Linked DNA regions of Homo sapiens: region 2 is linked to region 1. The links are contacts of gene promoters, found by promoter capture Hi-C in blood cells and fetal thymus (Javierre and others, 2016). All regions are on one chromosome and are shown on one strand. The core of a region is centred on a gene start or on the middle of the fragment in contact, and the rest is flanking DNA. Distances in the headings are between cores, read along the strand shown.

Evidence for each region. Contacts are between HindIII fragments. The CHiCAGO score rates a contact against its expected background, and 5 or more counts as called.
Region 2: a fragment that was not itself captured here is called in contact with the fragment with the promoter of TRANK1 in region 1 in 5 of 17 cell types (neutrophils, total CD8 T cells, erythroblasts and 2 more); the score reaches 8.0 in neutrophils.

Annotation. Positions count from the first base shown.
Region 1 is chr3:36,942,015-36,947,593 of GRCh38, reverse strand. TRANK1 (tetratricopeptide repeat and ankyrin repeat containing 1) reads left to right here and starts at 2,540. Exons shown (of 24, transcript NM_001329998.2): 1 at 2,540-2,807. The coding sequence starts at 2,785. RefSeq lists an enhancer at 2,373-2,442 and a silencer at 2,673-2,892. The HindIII fragment of the contact is 7,723 bases long and covers 1-3,650 here.
Region 2 is chr3:37,235,171-37,240,749 of GRCh38, reverse strand. No RefSeq gene overlaps it. Among named protein-coding and RNA genes, the nearest start is that of GOLGA4, 5.3 kb to the left of the region's middle. The HindIII fragment of the contact is 2,731 bases long and covers 2,163-4,893 here.

The DNA of each region.
Region 1 (5,579 bases), core at 1,291-3,790:
CATGCCCAGCTAATTTTTGTATTTTTAGTAGAAATGGGGTTTTACCATGGTGGTCAGGCTGGTCTTGAACTCCTGACTCAGGGGATCTGCTTACCTGGGACTCCCAAAATACTGGGATTACAGGCATGAGCCACCACGCCTGGCTGAGGCCTGCTCTTTTAACTGTGAATGTATAACTGATAAAAATATAAAAATAGAAGACAGAGAAGAAACAGTTTTAAAAAGAAAGATAACATACTGACGTGACTTTTGAGGATTATGGTGAAGATATCCAAAGAAGATGTATGACAACAAGATTTTGAGATGCTTATGAAAACTAGTGAAAGAGTGGTCAAAGTGTAAACGGACTTTTTGGTTTTTTTAAATCCTCCTCTCTTCACCAATCCCTTGGCTTGCTCTCTTTGATGTAAGAACCTGGCTAGGCTTTCTGGAAGTAGACTCCTTGAAGTTGGCAAAAATAACAACAACAACAACAACAAAACAAAATAACCCCCCAAAACAAAAAGAAAAACAAAAAACCCCAAAACCAAAAATATCTCCGAAACCAAAAAATACCCCGCAACCAAAAAACCCCAAACCAAAACCAAACCAAACCAAAACCCAAACTGAACAAACCCAAAAATCACCAACAGAAAGAGGTATGCTAGAAGAGGTGGCATGTGCTTTCCTAAATATAGAATTGGGGGATGTTGGGAAAAGTATTGGAGGAAGGATATGGAAAGTATCCTAAAAGTGAAAGGACCAATGATGTCTGGGAAATAGCAAGTAGTCCAACTATTTGGTGGCTAGCAGTGATTCTCAAACTTTGCAGCATGTTATAGTCTTTTAAAAATCCTGATGTGGCTGGGTGTGGTGGCTTGCACCTATAATTCCAGCACTTGGGGAAGCCTAAGTGGGTGGATCACTTGAGGTCATGGGTTTGAGACCAGCCTGTCTAACATGGTGAAACCCCGCCTCTACTAAAAATCTAAAAAATTCAGCCGGGCAAGGCGGCGGGCACCTGTAATCCCAGTTACTCAGGAGGCTGAGGCAGGAGAATCACCTGAACAACAGAGTGAGACTGTCTCAAAACAAAAACAAAAACAAAAATTCCTGACGCCCATGTCAATTAGACAATTTGGGAGTAAAAGCCAAACATACGCATATTTTTGGGTTTTTTTTTTTTTTTTTGTATTTTTAGTAGAGATGGGGTTTCTCCATGTTGGTCTGGCTGGTCTCAAACTCCCGACCTCAGGTGATCCGCCTGCCTCAGGCTTCCAAAGTGCTGGGATTACGGGTGTGAGCCACCCGCCCGGCCTTGTTTTTGTTTTTAAGCTCCCCAGGTGATTCTATTGTGTAACTAAGGTTGGGAAGCACTGCAGTATAGAGTTTGCATGAGGAAGCTAAGATTGGAAATGTGGGGCAAGATTGTGAAGAAGAATCTCAAATGCCCGGGTACCTAACCTGATCTCTAGGAGACAATGGAGTGCCACTGATGGCTTTTGAACTGTACGTGATTCATCCTGATGTTTGGGGAAGATCAATGCACAGAAATCTCTGTGAGATTCTAGAAGCAAGGAGACCACTAGCTAGACTGAGACTAGTTCACAACGCAGAATGACCAGTGGAGAGAAGTATACTGTGTGCCTTAGGTGTGTCCACGTGTTACCAAAGCCTCTCTGTTTCGCTGAAATGTGTGGTCCCCCTCACTAAAGCTCTGGTGGTGTCCTCCCTGCCACCAGGCAGCCTGGTGTGGTGGTCCCCCAGAAGGATGGGCGAACCACCGGGATGCAGTGTAGGCCGAACCTTGCCCCAGGGGAGGGCGGCGGGCTTAGCTCTCTGATTGGGTGGATTCTCTGGTGTGTAGGAAAGTACTCCCAGGCCCAGAGAAGCTGTGAAGACCAAACCGGCTCCCTAGGCCGAGAACCGCTGGGGAGGTAGCAGCCAGAGGTGGTCCTCTCCGACCCACTACTCTGTCGATCATCACTGGGGAGGTGGAAAGACAAGGCAAGATCCTCATTTTGTTGCCTGCTCAGGCCTGTGCGCACTTACTCTCCATGGACACGACGGTGAGCGTGGAGCAGCCCGCGGTCTCGCTGCCCCCTTCACTCCCGGACCCCCAGCCTCCCCAGAGTGGAGGGGCAAGCACACAGTAAGTACTTGATATTCGCCCGACTCCTGAGCTCCTCATCTGTAGGAGCTAGGGGGCTTGTTCTCCGTACGTCCTTTGTTGGAGGGAGGAACGAGGGAAGGAGAAAACCCACGCTGAGGCCGTTGGCCGATCACTTTCTTTACCTCCCGGACAACATTGATGGGCCCCACTAAGGAAAGCCGAATTCTCGCATGCCCGAGGAGTGTCGGAGGTGGTTGTGCGCCTAGTCCCTCCTGGTAAAGGGTTCGAAGCACTCGTTTATTCAAAGGCGGCCGAGAGCCATACCATTTGCTTGCATGACGGGAGACACCGAAACGCCCCTTTTGAACGCGATGACAAACACCTCCTCCCACTCAGCAGCGACGTGCACGTGACAGTTTTTGGGCTCTCGCAACTACGTGGAAACTTGGAATAGGTCTGCGGCTGCACACCGCCCGGACGCCGGGGTTCCTGCGTCCCCCGCCCCCTCTGATCGCGGCTGGGTAGCCGAGCCGCAGGCAGCTGGGGGCCCCCGAACGCCGCCTCTGCATCGCGCCGCCCCTGCCCCGGGCTCCGGTAGCTTTCGGGCTTCCGCACTGCCCGCCGCGCCCTGCCCACAGGGAAGCGCTTCCCCAGGCGGCGGCGGTCCTGGTGCGGACCCTCCGGCCGCAGCCATGTGGGACCCGCGGGCAGCTAGGTGCGTAGCGGCGCGGGAAGCACTGGGGCATCTCTGGCCTTCCGGGCCCGCCACCCTTCCTGGCGGGAGGCGGCCGCGCGCGGGGACTGGCGACCCTGAGGTAGCGGCCGAACGGGCCCGCCCGGCCATCCCTGTGGGGCCCACAGCCATCTAGGTGCAGACCCGAGCCAGTTGCGCGGGGTCGGTCGCGGGGGACGGCTTCGGCCTTTTCGGTCCGGAGGGACCAGGGCACGCGCTGCGACAGGACTGCGGCGGCGCGCGGCCTGCCTAGCTCCCACCCCGGCATCGAAGCCGCAGCTCTCGGGCCCACCTCCGCATCCTCAGGGGTTCCCGGGGGCTGCCGACAGGTTCCTGACCAGCGAGCGCGCCCCCGGGGCAAGCATTCTTGGCGGGCAGAAACCTGGGAGCGGAGCACAGCGGTGCAAGGGAACCGTGCCAGGCGGGAAGGGCGGAATTTGCGGGGAACTTGGAGCGCGCTGGCCTCTTCCCGGCAGTAGGAGGCCTTCTTCCCTGCCCGCCCGATTGAGGGCTGCTGGGCTGGCTCAAACTGGACTGCACGGTCCATCAGCCTGGGCTCACCGAGTCTAGGGGGAAGGTAGTAGTAGGGACCCAAGGCTGGGAAGCGGAGCCCTTAGAAGCCCTTGCTTCTGCCTCGGAGCGTTTCCGAACCGGAGCTCGGAGTCTGTTGCCTGGGAGGCGCGTTGCGTTTCCTCCCAACTCCCTGTCTCCGTCCCGCGGGGAGCCCTGTGCACTTGCAACCCGGCTGAGATAGAGCCCATCTTTGAGGTGCAGCTCAAGCCACCTTTTCTCCCAGATCGGGGTGTTTCTGGGCAGTTGAAAGCTTTGGTGCTTCCTAGGAAAATTTTTATGGAAGTGTGCAATTTGGAAAATAAAAGAAAAAAAAATTTAAGAAGCAGAAAGAGAATGGGGCTCTGAGGTCTCTAGTTCCCCTATCTGCTCCAACCCAGTTGCTGCTGGCTCAGTTAGTCCTTATGCGGGAAGGAATAGCTGGGATTAAAGCCTTGTGTTCCCAGCGTAGGTATGCGCTCCTGCTCCCTCGTGCTGAGCGTTTTGGGTTCCAGGATCCTTTTTGATATAAGGCTGTTATCCGGATGGCATCCTGTTTGGTCCTTTATAGAAAAAAAAAAAAAGTACTACGGTGTGTGTGTGTTGGAGGGCGGGGACGGTGGTCAGGAGTTTGTTTCAACTGTTTTCCAGGCAGGTCTGTTTTGTAGGATTGCAGGATAGGTGCTTGAGTTCATATGCTCTTTGTTGGCTTTTGCATCCTCTGCGGGGGGTGGGGGGGTGGGTAGAGGTGGGATAGGTGTGTGTGGCATTCACTCCCAGAGTCGCATCCCACTGCCACTGGCCTATGTATGGGTTTCTAGGTCTTTTTTCGATCAAGACCCACACCCACCCACCTATATGTATATAATGTATATATGCATAATATGTGTGTAATATTATATATACATATATACGCACACACACATACACATGTAAAATTGCAGCAAGAGCTTCATGGTATAGTTATTCTTTCTACAGGGTGAGGCACAATGATATTTTCCATTCTATTCCCTCCCCCCACCCCCCACCAGAGGGATTCTCGCTCTGTCACCCAGGCTGGAGTGCAATGAGGCGATCTCGGCTCACTGCAGCCTCCGCCTCCTGGGTTCAAGCGATTCTCCTGCCGCAGCCTCCGAAATAGCTGGGATTACGGGGGGCCGGGGGTGGGGCGCCACCAAGCCTGACTAATTTTTGTATTTTTAGTGGAGACGGTGTTTCGCCATGTTGGCCATGCTGGTCTCAAACTCCTGATCTCAAGTGATCCACCCGCTTCTGCCTGCCAGAGTGCTGGGATTACACGCCAGAGCCACCACGCCGGCCCATTCTATGTTTTTTTTTTTTTTTTAAAGCGGGTCATAAATTGTTAACTTCACTTTATGACCGACTGACCAGCTTTATGGGGCAACTGCAGGTTCTGTTTCCGCCGCTCTCCCAGAGTATGAGGAGACCGTCAGCATTTCACAGGGGAGTTGACTTTGGAAGTGAGGACTTGGTGTAGGAGTGATGAAGTAGACTGAAATTCATACTTGAGTGATAGAATACTGTAGGACATGGCTGTGTGGTTCAAGCCAGTACCATCTACAAAGACAGACCGCAGATGCTTCTGGTTACTTTGGTTCTGGCTATGTGTCCACAGAGAGCTGGCCTCCTGCATGGATCCCAGTGGGGCCTGGTGTAAATGCTAGGGAGGTAGGGGCATAATAGCTCCTGTTCTTTTTTTTTTTTTTTTTTTTTTTTGAGGAAGAAGAAGGGAAGATGCTGCAACCCTACTGCAGCCTTGGATTCATAGTTTTCTAAAAGGATTCTTTGGGTCTTGTCTCAGAATTTCACAGCTGCAATCAAGAGCTGGACCACGATCATTTTATAGATGAAGAAATTAAGGCCCAGAAAGGCCATCACTTGTTAGTCATTACCAACGAGTTAGTGTTAGATCTGGGATTAGACAACTTATCTCTTGACTTCCCAGTCCATGGCTCTCAGGAACCAAATAGAGACTGGCCTTGTGGAAATATTAAACTTCTATTTGCTGGTTGCTTCTGTTTTCCTGAAGTTACTACCAAAGACCCATTTCTATAGTATATGCCCTCATTATTTTATCTTTGCTTTTGGGGATGAAGATTATTTTAGCAGCCAAGTAGAGCCTGCAGTCCTCCTGTTTGGGGAAGGTAAAGTGATCTGAAGAGGAGGATTTTAAGAACTGAAGTG
Region 2 (5,579 bases), core at 2,279-4,778, 290 kb before region 1:
AGTAATTTGAACTCATTTCCTATCTAGCTGCTCAAGGATTAGCACACCTCACCGCAGAGCAGGATATTTAAAACAGGCTTGCATTTCAGTCATAATGATCAAAGGCCTCATGAATTTATTTTCCCAGTGGAACTAGTACCCACCTTTTTCAACACAAAGAAGCAATTCTAGTAGTTATAGACCAACTGTCATTCTTCCACCCCTTCCAATTGCACAAAATGCAAATACTATCTCCATGTTTCAGAAAATTTTCAGAATAACATAATTGCTAGGGGTTCAGATTGCTTTCCAAGCCTTAGATTTAACAAAATAGCATGTCAGAAAATGCTTCTAGTCAAGAACCAATACACATCTGAAACCTTCAACTGATTTCCTACTTTCTGACCAGAAACGTATCATCAGTCCTTTTGCGTCACCACACAATGCATTTTCTTAACCCTTATCAAGAATCCTTGTACCTGCCAACCACAACAGTATAGTATAATGGTTAAGAGCACAGTCTTTGGTTTACACAAAAGTCATCAATTTTTAGGCAGGGTGCGGTGGTTCATGCCTGTAATCCCAACCCTTTGGGAGGCCGAGGCGGGTGGATCACCTGAGGTCAGGAGTTCAAGACCAGCCTGGCCAACATGGCAAAACCCCGTCTCTACTAAAAATACAAAAAAAATTAACAAGGCATGGTGGCAGATGCCTGTAATCCCAGCTACTCAGGAGGCTGAGGCAGGAGAATCGCTTGGACCTGGGAGGCAGAGGTGGCAGTGAGCTGAGATCGTGCCACTGCACTCCAGCCTGGGCAACAAGAGCGAAACTCTGTCTCAAAAAATAAAAAATAAAAAAAGTCATCCATTTTCTAGTTCTTTAACCTTTGGCACTTAAGCAAACCACAGTATACAAAATCAAATGCCTAAAGGGAACAAGAGGTTATGAGTAAAGCACATATACATAGGATTTAAGACAATGGAAAATGTAGGAAGGTAACAAATGACAGTGTGAACACATCTAGAGGCATTTTTAAATCAACGCAACAAAACAACTCTTAGAATAAAATTCAGCCCAAAGGCCAGATTGTGACCTCTGAGTCTTAGCTCTCTGCATTTCATTTTCCTCATCTTTAATAATTTAATACTATTTCATAGGATTGTTGTGAAGTTCAAATGAGATGATATGCGTAAAGCGTACAATTCACAGTAAATGAAACTTATCAATTCTAAGAGTTTAATTCTCACTCATAACGCTCTCCCTCTGTATGTTGAGAACTCCAGCCTACACCTTTCCCCTGAGCTCTAGATCAAGCTTGTCCAACCCACGGCCCCATAGGCTGCATGTGGCACAGGATGGCTTTGAATGTGGCCCAATACAAATTCATAAACTTTCTGAAAACATTATGAGATTTTTTTGTGATTTTTTTGGGGGGGGCTATCAGCTATTGTTAGTGTATTTTATGTGTGGCCCAAGCCAATTCTTCCAGTGTGGTCCAGGGAAGCAAAAAGATTAGACACCCCTGCTCTAGACTATAGCATCTCCACTGGGCTCTCAGGTTGAGCAGGGCCAAGAACTATGTCTGTCATGCATCCCAGTCAGTGCTAGTACAGGGCCTGACACTACATTTCTACAGAGTTAGTATTTTTTGTTTTTTTTTTTAAACAGAGTCTTACTCTGTTGCCCAGGCTGGAGTGCAGTGACGCGATCTCGGCTCACTGCAACCTCCGCCACCTGGGTTCAAGCAATTCTCCTGCCTCAGCCTCATGAGTAGCTGGGACTACAGGCCTGTGCCACCAAGCCAACTAATTTTTGTATTTTTAGTAAAGACGGGATTTCACCACGTTGGCCAGACTGGTCTCAAACTTCTGACCTCAAGTGATTCGTCCACCTCCGCCTCCCAAATTGCTGGGATTACAGGAGTGAGCCACTATGCCAGGGTTTTGTTTTTTTAAATACACTACCAATGGGGGAAAAAAAAACAATTAATCTTAATACATCCACTTGCCTTAATGGCCAACTGGGCAACTTCCCTTAATGGCCCTCCTTAATGGCCCACAGGCATCTCACCTTCAACATCTCCAAAAACAAAATCATCTGCTACTACCCCTCTACCATCACCATCAGGCTTGTCCCTTCTGTGTTTCCTCTTACCCTCTTGCTGCTTCTCCTTTTCATAAGCTTGTTTTTTCATCTATATTTTCTACCTTGGCTGGTGTAATCTCCATCTTCCCAGTTACCAAAGCCAAAAGTTTGGAAGTCAATCAAGACATCTCTCTCTATACATCACCCATATCCAGAGAATCACTAAGTCTTGTGTATTTTCCTCTGAAATACTTCTGAAATCCATCTGCTTTCCTAATTTACCCCGCCACTAGTTTCAGTCTTCATTATAGCTTATCATTTAAATGGCCCCCCAGTTTCCAGTTTTGCTTCTTTCCAATCCATCTTCCACATAGCTGATGTTACTCTCCTGCTGCAACCCCATCAGTGGTCACCTTGTCCTACATAACAGTGTTCGTGCTACCAGGCAGTACAAGAAGCCCTCAGCAGCCTGGCTCCTGCTTTCCCTCTTACTAAACCCTGGCCACTCTTCACACTTCAAAGTTCCAGAAATGTCAAATTAACTCAGGGTTCCCTTGGCACATTCTGCTTTTTCTTTTTTTAAGAGAGAGAGAGAGAGACAGGGTCTCACTGTGTTGCCCAGGCTAGTCTCCAACACCTGGGCTCAGGTGTTCCACATGCCTCAGCCTCCCTGATGTTCTGAGATTACAGGTGTGAGCCGCCACACCTAGCCACATCCTGCTTTTATTTTATTTTATTTTTTTTTGAGATGGTGTCTCAGTCTGTCACTCAGGCCAGAGTGCAGTGACATGATCTCGGCTCACTGCAACCTCTACTTCCTGGATTCAGGCGATTCTCCTGCCTCAGCCTCCCTAGTAGCTGGGATTATAGGCATATGCCACTACGCCCCGCTAATTTTTGTATTTTCAGTAGAGACGGTTTTGCCATGTTGGCCAGGCTGGTCTCGAACTCCTGACCTCAGGTGATCCGCCTGCCTCAGCCTCCCAAAGTGCTGGGATTACAGGCGTGAGCCACCACACCTGGCCCACAACCTGCTTTTATATACGTGCTTGCCTTTCTTTTTTTTGGTCTACAAATTATATAGAGCAGTTGTGAAAATCATGAGTACGGCAGTGTACTCATTGTCCTCCTTGACTGTACCTTTCTTCCTTTTCCACTTTGCCTCTCTACCCTGGACAATGCTGTGCTCATATTTCATAATCTCTTTCAAGCATTCTCTAATACCACTCCCCAAACCACCCCCGACACACACATATCAGTGGAGTTAATCATGCTCTCCTCTATACAGCCTCAGTCTTACATGCTGTTAATGTATGTATCACACTGAATTTTTATCTTCTTTTGTTACAAAAGTAATATGCTCACTGTAACAAATGTAATCTGGTTCCTGCAAATAACCTCTATTAGTAATTCATTTTTCGTTTTTTTAATTTTTCTGTATTTATAAAATATATACATTTAATTATCTATACATAAAATATATGAAATATATACATTTAATTATACATAAATATATTTAGTTTTGTTTTATGAAAAATTGATTATACAAAATCCATATCTTGCTTTCTTCAATTAATATGCCATGAATATCATTTCTAATCAGTATATGTATTTCAATCCCTTTAATGGCTGCATAGTATTTTATACTATGTATGAATTATAATTTAAGATTTCTAATTGGTAGGCATTTAGCTTCTCTCCTGTTTTTTGCTAATAAAAAACTATTAAAGTGAGCAACTTTATAAATAAATGTTTGTATACTAGTGTGTATGTTTCTGTAGAAAATAATGGATTTCTGGCCGGGAGTGGTGGCTCACGTCTGTAATCCTAGCACTTTGGGAGGCCAAGGCAGGTGGATCACGAGGTCAGGAGATTGAGACCCTCCTGGCCAACGTGGTGAAACCCCGTCTGTACTAAAAATACAAAAATTAACCTGGCATGGTGGTGCGCCCCTGTAGTCCCAGCTACTCGGGAGGCTGAGGCTGGAGAATCACCTGAACCAGGGAGTCCAAGGTTTCAGTGAGCCGAGATGGTGCCACTGCACTCCAGCCTGGCGACAGAGCGAGACTCCGTCTCAAAAAAAAAAAAAAAAGAAAAAAGAAAAAAGAAAATAATGGATTTCTAGAAGTATAATTGAGAGTTCCATCCAATGAGCATGATTAATGCCAACTTGATCTCCAAAATGTATAGCAATTTATATTTCTACTGATAGTGTGGGAAATGCCCTTATGAATATGTTTTTAATTTTTTGTCAGTCAAAAAGATGGTGAATCGTATTTTACTTTTGTTGTAGTTTCCATTTATTTAATTATAAGCAATGTTAAAACGTCATCTTAAGTGTGTATGTTATCATAGTTCTTTCACATTGTATTACACAATTCATGTAACCCAGATATTTGCTCTTCCTTTTCCCCTAAGGGACAATTCCCTCTAAGTATATTTAGGGAAGTAAAATAGTCCTTCATCTTCCAAGTTATGTGTTCTTCTCACTGTCTCTTTACTTTTGCTAAATCACCTCTCTGCTATGGGACACTTCTCCATTTGTTACTGGTCTCAGCCTGGACAGCATGACTGCAGTTCCCTGGGGATCTTGATGCTTATGCTTCCAAGGGGTTTTACGGGATGGGAGTTGGGGGAGAGGGGGGAATGAGTTGAATTTAGGGTAGGTGTCACATATTTTATGACCCCAGCTCTTACTTCCTTTCATTACAGTTCTACTCAAGATATGGAGGTGGGAGAAGAGAGACTTTTGTTGTAACAAGTAACAAAGATGTAGAAATTGAAATATTTGTATTACTATATTGTTTTAATATACTTCATTAGAAAGCTTCGAAATGTTATGTTGTTAATATTTACTTTTACAGGAGAATATTGTAAGGCTATGTAAATTTTAATTATAAAACAGTTGGAAAACCTCTCATGGAAGAAAGTTCTACACATCAGAGTCTAAACTTAGACTCTCTGGAATTTAGCCAACTTTTCAGCCTGGTATAACTTATCTTTAGAGGGTTTTTAAAAATGTTTGTTGTTACAGGCTCACGCCTGTAATCCTAGCACTTTGGGAGGCTGAGGTGGGCAGATCATGAGGTCAGAAGTTCAAGACCATCCTGACCAACATGGTGAAACCCCATCTCTACTGAAAATATAAAACTTAGCCGGGCGTGGTGTCACATGCCTGTAATCCCAGCTACTTGGGAGGCTGGGGCAGGGGAATTGCTTGAACCTGGGACACAGAGGTTGCAGTGAGTTGAGATCGCACCACTGCTCTCCAGCCTGGGTGACAGAGCAAGACTCCGTCTCAAAAAAAAATTTTTTTTTAATTTAAAATTTAAAAATTTAAACAAATGTTTGTTGTTAATTTAATGCCCATTACTGGCATAAAGTAAATAAACTATGGAAAAGTGAAGAGCTACTTCTTACTCTTATTGGCTCTGTTTGACAAATAGACACAAAGAACCAAAAAATGACTTGTCCATAGTAATATGATCTCAGTGATAGAACTAGAAAGTGACTCC